2 separate regions of the Homo sapiens genome follow, and region 1 is linked to region 2. The links are contacts of gene promoters, found by promoter capture Hi-C in blood cells and fetal thymus (Javierre and others, 2016). All regions are on one chromosome and are shown on one strand. The core of a region is centred on a gene start or on the middle of the fragment in contact, and the rest is flanking DNA. Distances in the headings are between cores, read along the strand shown.

What was found. The method cuts DNA at HindIII sites, captures the fragments that hold promoters and counts their contacts. A CHiCAGO score of 5 or more calls a contact.
Region 1: a fragment that was not itself captured here is called in contact with the fragment with the promoter of HERC1 in region 2 in 2 of 17 cell types (megakaryocytes and erythroblasts); the score reaches 7.8 in megakaryocytes.

What each region holds. Positions count from the first base shown.
Region 1 is chr15:63,894,936-63,898,190 of GRCh38, forward strand. No RefSeq gene overlaps it. Among named protein-coding and RNA genes, the nearest start is that of MIR422A, 26 kb to the left of the region's middle. RefSeq lists enhancers at 1,874-1,923, 2,124-2,173. The HindIII fragment of the contact is 5,326 bases long and covers 1-3,255 here.
Region 2 is chr15:63,832,583-63,835,991 of GRCh38, forward strand. It overlaps HERC1 (HECT and RLD domain containing E3 ubiquitin protein ligase family member 1), which reads right to left and starts at 1,366. Exons shown (of 78, transcript NM_003922.4): 1 at 1,245-1,366. RefSeq lists enhancers at 522-1,387, 1,388-2,251, 1,425-1,554 and a silencer at 755-1,184. The HindIII fragment of the contact is 17,710 bases long and covers 1-3,409 here.

The sequences.
Region 1 (3,255 bases), core at 596-3,095, 63 kb after region 2:
CAGCAGCACCTGCGGCCTCTTCCAGGCTCCCCCCACCTCCCCTCTCTCCCTCAGCTCTCGGGTTGTTTTTCTAAAGCAGCACATCAGAATCACCTGGAGGGCCTATTAAAGTACCCTCAGAGTTTCTGATCTAGGAGGTCTGGGAGGCAGCTGGAGAATTTGCATTTCTAAGTTCCCAGATGACCCTAATGCTGCTGGCCAGGGACCACACTTTGAGAACCCCTGATCTTAGCCACAGCTCTGATAAAGTCTCACGAAACCTCTCAACCCTCCCCATAGCTTGCTGAATAAAGGCCTAAGCCTGGGTTGAAGCCCCTCTTTATCTAGCCCCCTTCCCCACCGCAGCAGGCCCCACCCCAACAGGGTGCCCCGCGTCCCCAGGGGATACCTTGCTCTCTCCTACCTCTGTGTCTTTGCTCAAGCTGTTCCTGGCCTGGACTCTGCAGCCCCCTCCACCCATGTGAATCCTCTTATCTGTGAAGCGCACTCAAAGGCTACTTCCTCTGGAGGCCTGCCTGGGCCCCCATCCCTCGGAACACAGGACTCCTTCCTCAGCTCCCAGCTTAGCGCCTATTTCATCCTTGTCACTGCACTGTGGATTCCTTGAGGACATGAACTATCTTTTCCCATCTTTGTCTCTATATTTGCTAAATAGATATGACCCCAGAAGACAGAACCAGGACAATGGATGGATCTGCGGGGAGGCAAACTTGAGCTTAACCTGAGAAAGAACTTGTAACAACCTGAACAGTTTGACACCAGCCCTTAAGGGTCCTGCCAAGAGATCCTGAGCTCCCTGTCGCCCCTGGGCATCTTCAGTGGTGTTGGACGAGCATCTACAAAGTCTCTGAAACCCCTGCTTAGACCAAGTACTGACTACCTCAATGTCCCTCCTGGGGCCCTCTCTCCCCAGGAGAACCTGACACCCCCCCATCAAACCCGCTGCCCAGCATGCCAGACCCACAAGGCCCCACAGGCTGGCTGGACCTTACTGGAGACCAGTGGTCACAGCAAGTGTGACATTTTGTCAGTGGCCTTCACTGTCTGAATACAAGGAGTGACCAGTGGTGACACCCTCCTGCTCCAGGCCAGCCTCCCTGCCTTCCTCTGATCACCGCCTCCCCCGAAGGACCAACCCCACCTCGATGTACTCACATCGCCTTTCCTTACCTCATCCATATCTCACGTGGCCAGGGGAAGCAGCTCATCTATGGGCAAGCTGAATATCCACAGGTGCGCTCCCAGCTCGGGCTCCTTAGGAACAGGAATATCCTCCTGCAGAATATTCTCCAGTGCCTTCCCCATGCTGGGTGCATGTAAATGCTCAGATGTTCATTTCCTGATGTGCGTTTCCCATCGATGTCCTGCTGGAACCCTTCCCTCACAAGTGGTGCTCTCCCAGGTGTGCTCCAGCGGGCAAATGCCCTCCTCACCCCTCCCCATCTGATATTAGGAAAGAACCTGTGAAACCCATTCCAACCAAGAAGCCTGGGACTGAGGCTTTCTGCCCCTGCCATCCCTGGGGAAACGTTACTGTTTAAATCCGATAAGCGTGAAAGCCTCGCTTGATTGCATGGCAGCTAAGCATACTATGTGTAGTGGTGTTTATTTGCTGATTGGTTGATTTGGAGAGGAAGGAGAAGGATTTTCCAGAGTCTAGACTCTTATGGCTTTGTGGGGCTTTCCAGGGTCAGCATCGATTGTGAAAGTTTGGTGAGCTTGGCAGTTTGTATCATTTAAGAAAATCTGCCCGGGCTTCCTCCCCCACCAGGAAGTGTCCCATCAGTTCCAAAGCCCTCAGCTTAGTTATTGGAAAGGCCTGAGAAAGCCACGACCCAGCGGACCCAGCTGGGGAACACCTGGGTCTCAGTTCACCTTCTGCCAACCTCTAGGTCTTACGAGCATTCCTGTTTCCTCTCCTTCCCTGGGCTACTTGAGGTCATGACCTTCTGAAAGAATGCAGGGTCAGCCAGCCTGGCTGAAATTTCCCCTCCGTGGGTGTGAAAGGCGATATGTCCAACTGTGAACACACAGGGCCCACATCCTTATGACTCAGCAGATGCGGCTGTCCTCAACCACATCGCCCAGAATGTCACTCTGACCTGCCTCAGAGGTCTGACAGCAGAATAGATTCTGCAAAGCCTGGGCCCAGGAGGCGCTTTCTCCATGAGTCCTTTTGGACAACACACATTCACCCAGACACACACTCAGATGCACACACACACACACAGACACATCCACTACAGAGACAGATGTGCACACACTGATACCCAAACGTACCCCAAACGCAGACACGCGGACATGCACAGACACCCAACACACACATGCACACACAGGCCCCCGGACAGTCAGATACACACACAAAGACATCCACACACACAAACACCCAGACACATCCACACACGTCCACACACCCCACAGAGACATGTCCACAACGGGTGCCTAGGTATGCCCAGAAACACACAGTTACCCGAATACAGCCAGACACACACACACACACACACACACACACACACACACACACACACACAGACTCCTCCAGAGGACTCAGGAAGAATCAGATCTGTCCCGTATGCCTGACCTTGAATGCCTCTGCCAACCCCAACAGATGGCCACTGGCTCTCCGACAGGGCCCTCTGGTCTCTGACCAAGAACCAGGGTCACAATGGACAGAGAAGGGGAAAATGGTAGAACTACTAATTCACCACCGTGCAGTTAACCCGCAGAAGTCTCATTCTTTCATTTAATTGGTAGCTTTCCAAAGTTCAGCCACGAGAAGGCGTAAGGACAAGCAATCAGAATACTAACCCATAACTTCCTGTCCCTTCTCTTAGCACCCATCCTTTAAGGCCAAATTAAAGTCCACCTTGTTCATATAGTCCTCCAGATTCCCAGAGTTAGAAACCGCAGCTTCTCCCATGCGCCCCTCATGTCATGCTTCTTGGTCTCTTTTTTTTTTTGAGATGGAGTTTCACTATTGTTTCCCAGGCTGGAGTGCAATGGTGCCATGTTGGCTCACTGCAACCTCTGCCTCCCGGGTTCAAGCGAGTCACCTGCCTCAGCTTCCCAAGTAGCTGGGATTACAGTGCCCACCAGCATGCCCAGCTAATTTTTGTATTTTTATTAGAAACAGGGTTTCACCATATTGGCCAGGCTGGTCTCGAACTCCCGACCTCAGGTGATCCACCTGCCTCAGCCTCCCAAAGTGATGGGATTACAGGTGTGAGCCACCGCGCCTGGCCCACCATTGATTTT
Region 2 (3,409 bases), core at 116-2,615:
GTAAAAATATAATATATACATAGGTACTAGACCCAAACAGACAATGTTTTAACGTTTGATTTTTCAAACCACTTAGCTAACAATCATTTTGGAAAAGGGCCCAGTGAAAAAGATAGTGATGGCAGAGTTCAGCCAGTGATAATGAACTAGCAGCCAGTTTTAATCAAGCAGGCCAGAGAACTGATTCAAATAAAATAAATCATTTTTGGAACAAATATAGAATGAGGAAGTCCCAAGCAAGGATAAAAAAAAATGTGTCTGTTAGGAAATACAATAAAATGTTAACCATGAAATGCCACCTCTGGAGATGGAATTACAAAGATGGGTTAGTTTGTTCAGATTTGTTATTCCCATCATTTAATTATCTCTATATTCTAAGTATTATAGACATTTCTTAAACTAAGACAAATCTGTCCCTGTGTTTCACAGCTCTCTAAGATAACATGTCTTTTACATAACCTCCTGGGAGAGGTGGTACAAGCTCCTGTCCTCCTCGTGTCTCCCAGTAACCTGCCACCCATCACAGAACAGATTTCACCATGTTCCCCGGGGTAGCTCCTGTCATCACCATCATCATCCTCATCTCACGCTTAAGACTAAACAATGCGCCCCGCCTCGCCTCCCGGTTGCAAAGGCTTTATAATTTGTTGTTTTATTGGGGCGGGAGATTTGGAGAAAGGTTTAGCAGATGATGAGCTGCCCTCACCCAAAGGCAGAGGAGAGGAGGAAGACACGTCGTCCCAGCCTCCACCCCGCTAAAGGCGGCCGGCGCCTGGGGACACCGGGGTCGCGGCACTCCCCGGACCCTGAGAGGGAGTCGGCCGCCGCCCGCGGACCGAGCCCCAGCCGGGGCAGAGGAGCTGGTCAGCAGATAAAGGAATGAAGCAGAAAGAGACGCGACCACAGCGGGGCCGGGGCACAGACGTTGTAAGCCGCTGGAGGGGCGGGTCTCTCGGCCCTCTCCGCGGGCGCCTCGGCTTCTACGCTGCTCCGAGGCGCCCGGGCGGCAGGAGGCCTCTAGAGCCGGGGACCCGGGGGATCCGCGGCGCGCCAGGAGGGCTCCCCCAGCTCGCCTGCCGCCCACCCGGGACCCCAGCAGCCCCGCTCGGCTGCAGTCCCGAAACGGCCCCGGCCGGCCCTGCGCGGCCGGCAAAGCACACACGCGCGCGCGCACACACACACACACACACACACACACACACACACACAGGACCAGGAGGACGGTAGATGATGCGTTACCGTACGTGGCTCTGGAGCTGGCGGGGTGGGGCGCGGCTCCGGCGACCCGAGCCCGGCTCCGCAGAGGCTGCGGCGGTCGCGTCCTTTATTTTTGCTGCAGCAGCAGCGACTTGTCAAAGGGAAAGACGTAAGAGGCGGCGGCAGCAGCGGCGGCGTCAGGCGAGTCTCACGAGATTTGGGCGGAACTCTCGCGCAGCCGGGAGCCCTCGCCCCGCCCAACAGGCCCAGCGCGGGAGGTGAAAGGGGAACCGAGAGGAAGGCGGCTGAGGTGGAGTTGGGGGTTGAGCGAAAAGGGGAAAGGGATTTGGGAGCGAGGGGAGCCAAGCTAGGTGCTGGGGACACTTTGCTACCGCGCGGCCCTCACCCTTCAGCCGTCGCGGAATCCGGGCAGCCCCGACCGCCTGCGGGGACCTGACTCCACAGATGAAGCACAATTGGGGGCGTTTCACAAAGGGTGGTGAGGAGTGGGGGGCCATGCAGTGCGCCCCCTTTTCCTCGTGGTGGGCAGGGAAGACCCCGCCGCCAGGCGAAGGGACACGTGTTACGGCCGGCGGCAGGGCCAGGGCCTCACCCCTTTATCTCCGCCTCGCACCCGGCGCCCCACGCTCTTTATCTCTCATCGCAGCGGCCCCGGCCCTCCGGCCGGCTAAGTTCAATCACATAAAAGCGTTTCACTTGACCTACTCTTCCACCTTGTTCATGTCTTTGCGCCTTATGGGACTGCCAGAACCCTGCAGATGCCAGGGCCTGGCTCCTCGGTTTTCTTTTCTGCTTGGGAACACAGTAGTGTCCTTTGGGTGACTTACATCCTTGATCATGACCTCGACCTCCACGTGAAACCCCATGAGGGGAAGGACACAGACTGGCTCAGTCCTCACCATATCTCCAGCGCCTAACATAGGTCCAAGTGGACATTAAATTGTTGAGTGAATACCCCATCTCCATCTTCCTCCTTCTGTACCTGGTTTTACTCCTTTCCAGCCACCTTCATGGTGTCTTTCCTTCCAGATATTCTAACGAGCATCAATTAAACTGACCGATGACTTGGGGACAAAAAATAGAGTTGGCCTCTGCGTTCCAGAAGTTTGCAATCCAATTGGAGGCGTAGGAGAAGCACACAAACATACAAGCCATGAATGTGTCACTAATGTAAGAAATTACGGTATAGACAGACGAGGGAGTGCTTTCCCATGGTTAAATTAGATACATGTTTGTGTGTCACATGAGGCAGTTTAGTCCAAGAGTTAGGAGCCATGTGCTTCACTGTCAGACACTGGTGGGAATTCTGGAATCCCACTTACCCCAGGTGTGTGACCTTGGGCAAGTTGCTTGACCTCTCTGAACCTCAGTTCCTTATGTGTCAATTTATAATGCCAGTTCTTGTTATCACAAGGTTCCTCTGAGGAGTAAAATATATGTAAAGCTCACATACGGCACATATTAAGTACTCATTAAATGATGGGTCTTAGGTGTGTAGCTTTTAAGTTTCTATGTATAAAATGTGTATTTCTGGTAAATGATGTAAGGGAGTAGCTACATGAGGAGTGATGTCATTGTTGCTAGTGCTTTATGATCTGGGTATTGTGTGTGAAGCATACTCAAAAACAACAAGCAAAAGCTCCTCCTTTTAACTTGTTGATGTCATCTACGTCACTCACAAATATGATATTCTGTCTTTCTTGAATTTGTAAAATTGTACTGGTTTTGCCCACTTTTTCTTTTTCTTTTTTTTGAGATGGAGTTTTGCTCTTGTTGCCCAGGCTAGAGTGCAATGGCACCATCTTGGCTCACTGCAACCTCCGCCTCCCAGGTTTAAGCGATTCTCCTGCCTCAGCCTCCCAAGTAGGTGGGATTACAGGTGTGTGCCACCATGCCTGGCTAATTTTTGTATTTTTAGTAGAGATGGGGTTCCACCATATTGGCCAGGCTGGTCTCGAACTCCTGACCTTGTGATCCGACCGCCTTGGCCTCCCAAAGTGCTGGGATTACAGGGGTGAGCCACCGTGCCCAGCCTGGTTTTGCCCATTCTATTTCAAGAAAAGGACTGCTTACTTTAAAGACCAATCAAGAGACTCCCTCTTTTACCATCTCCTTAGCTTCCACCCTCAGAGCTGTGTGTAAAAGAGAATTGAATACAACTGTGTTCAGTTGCATACAATTAGCAAATACT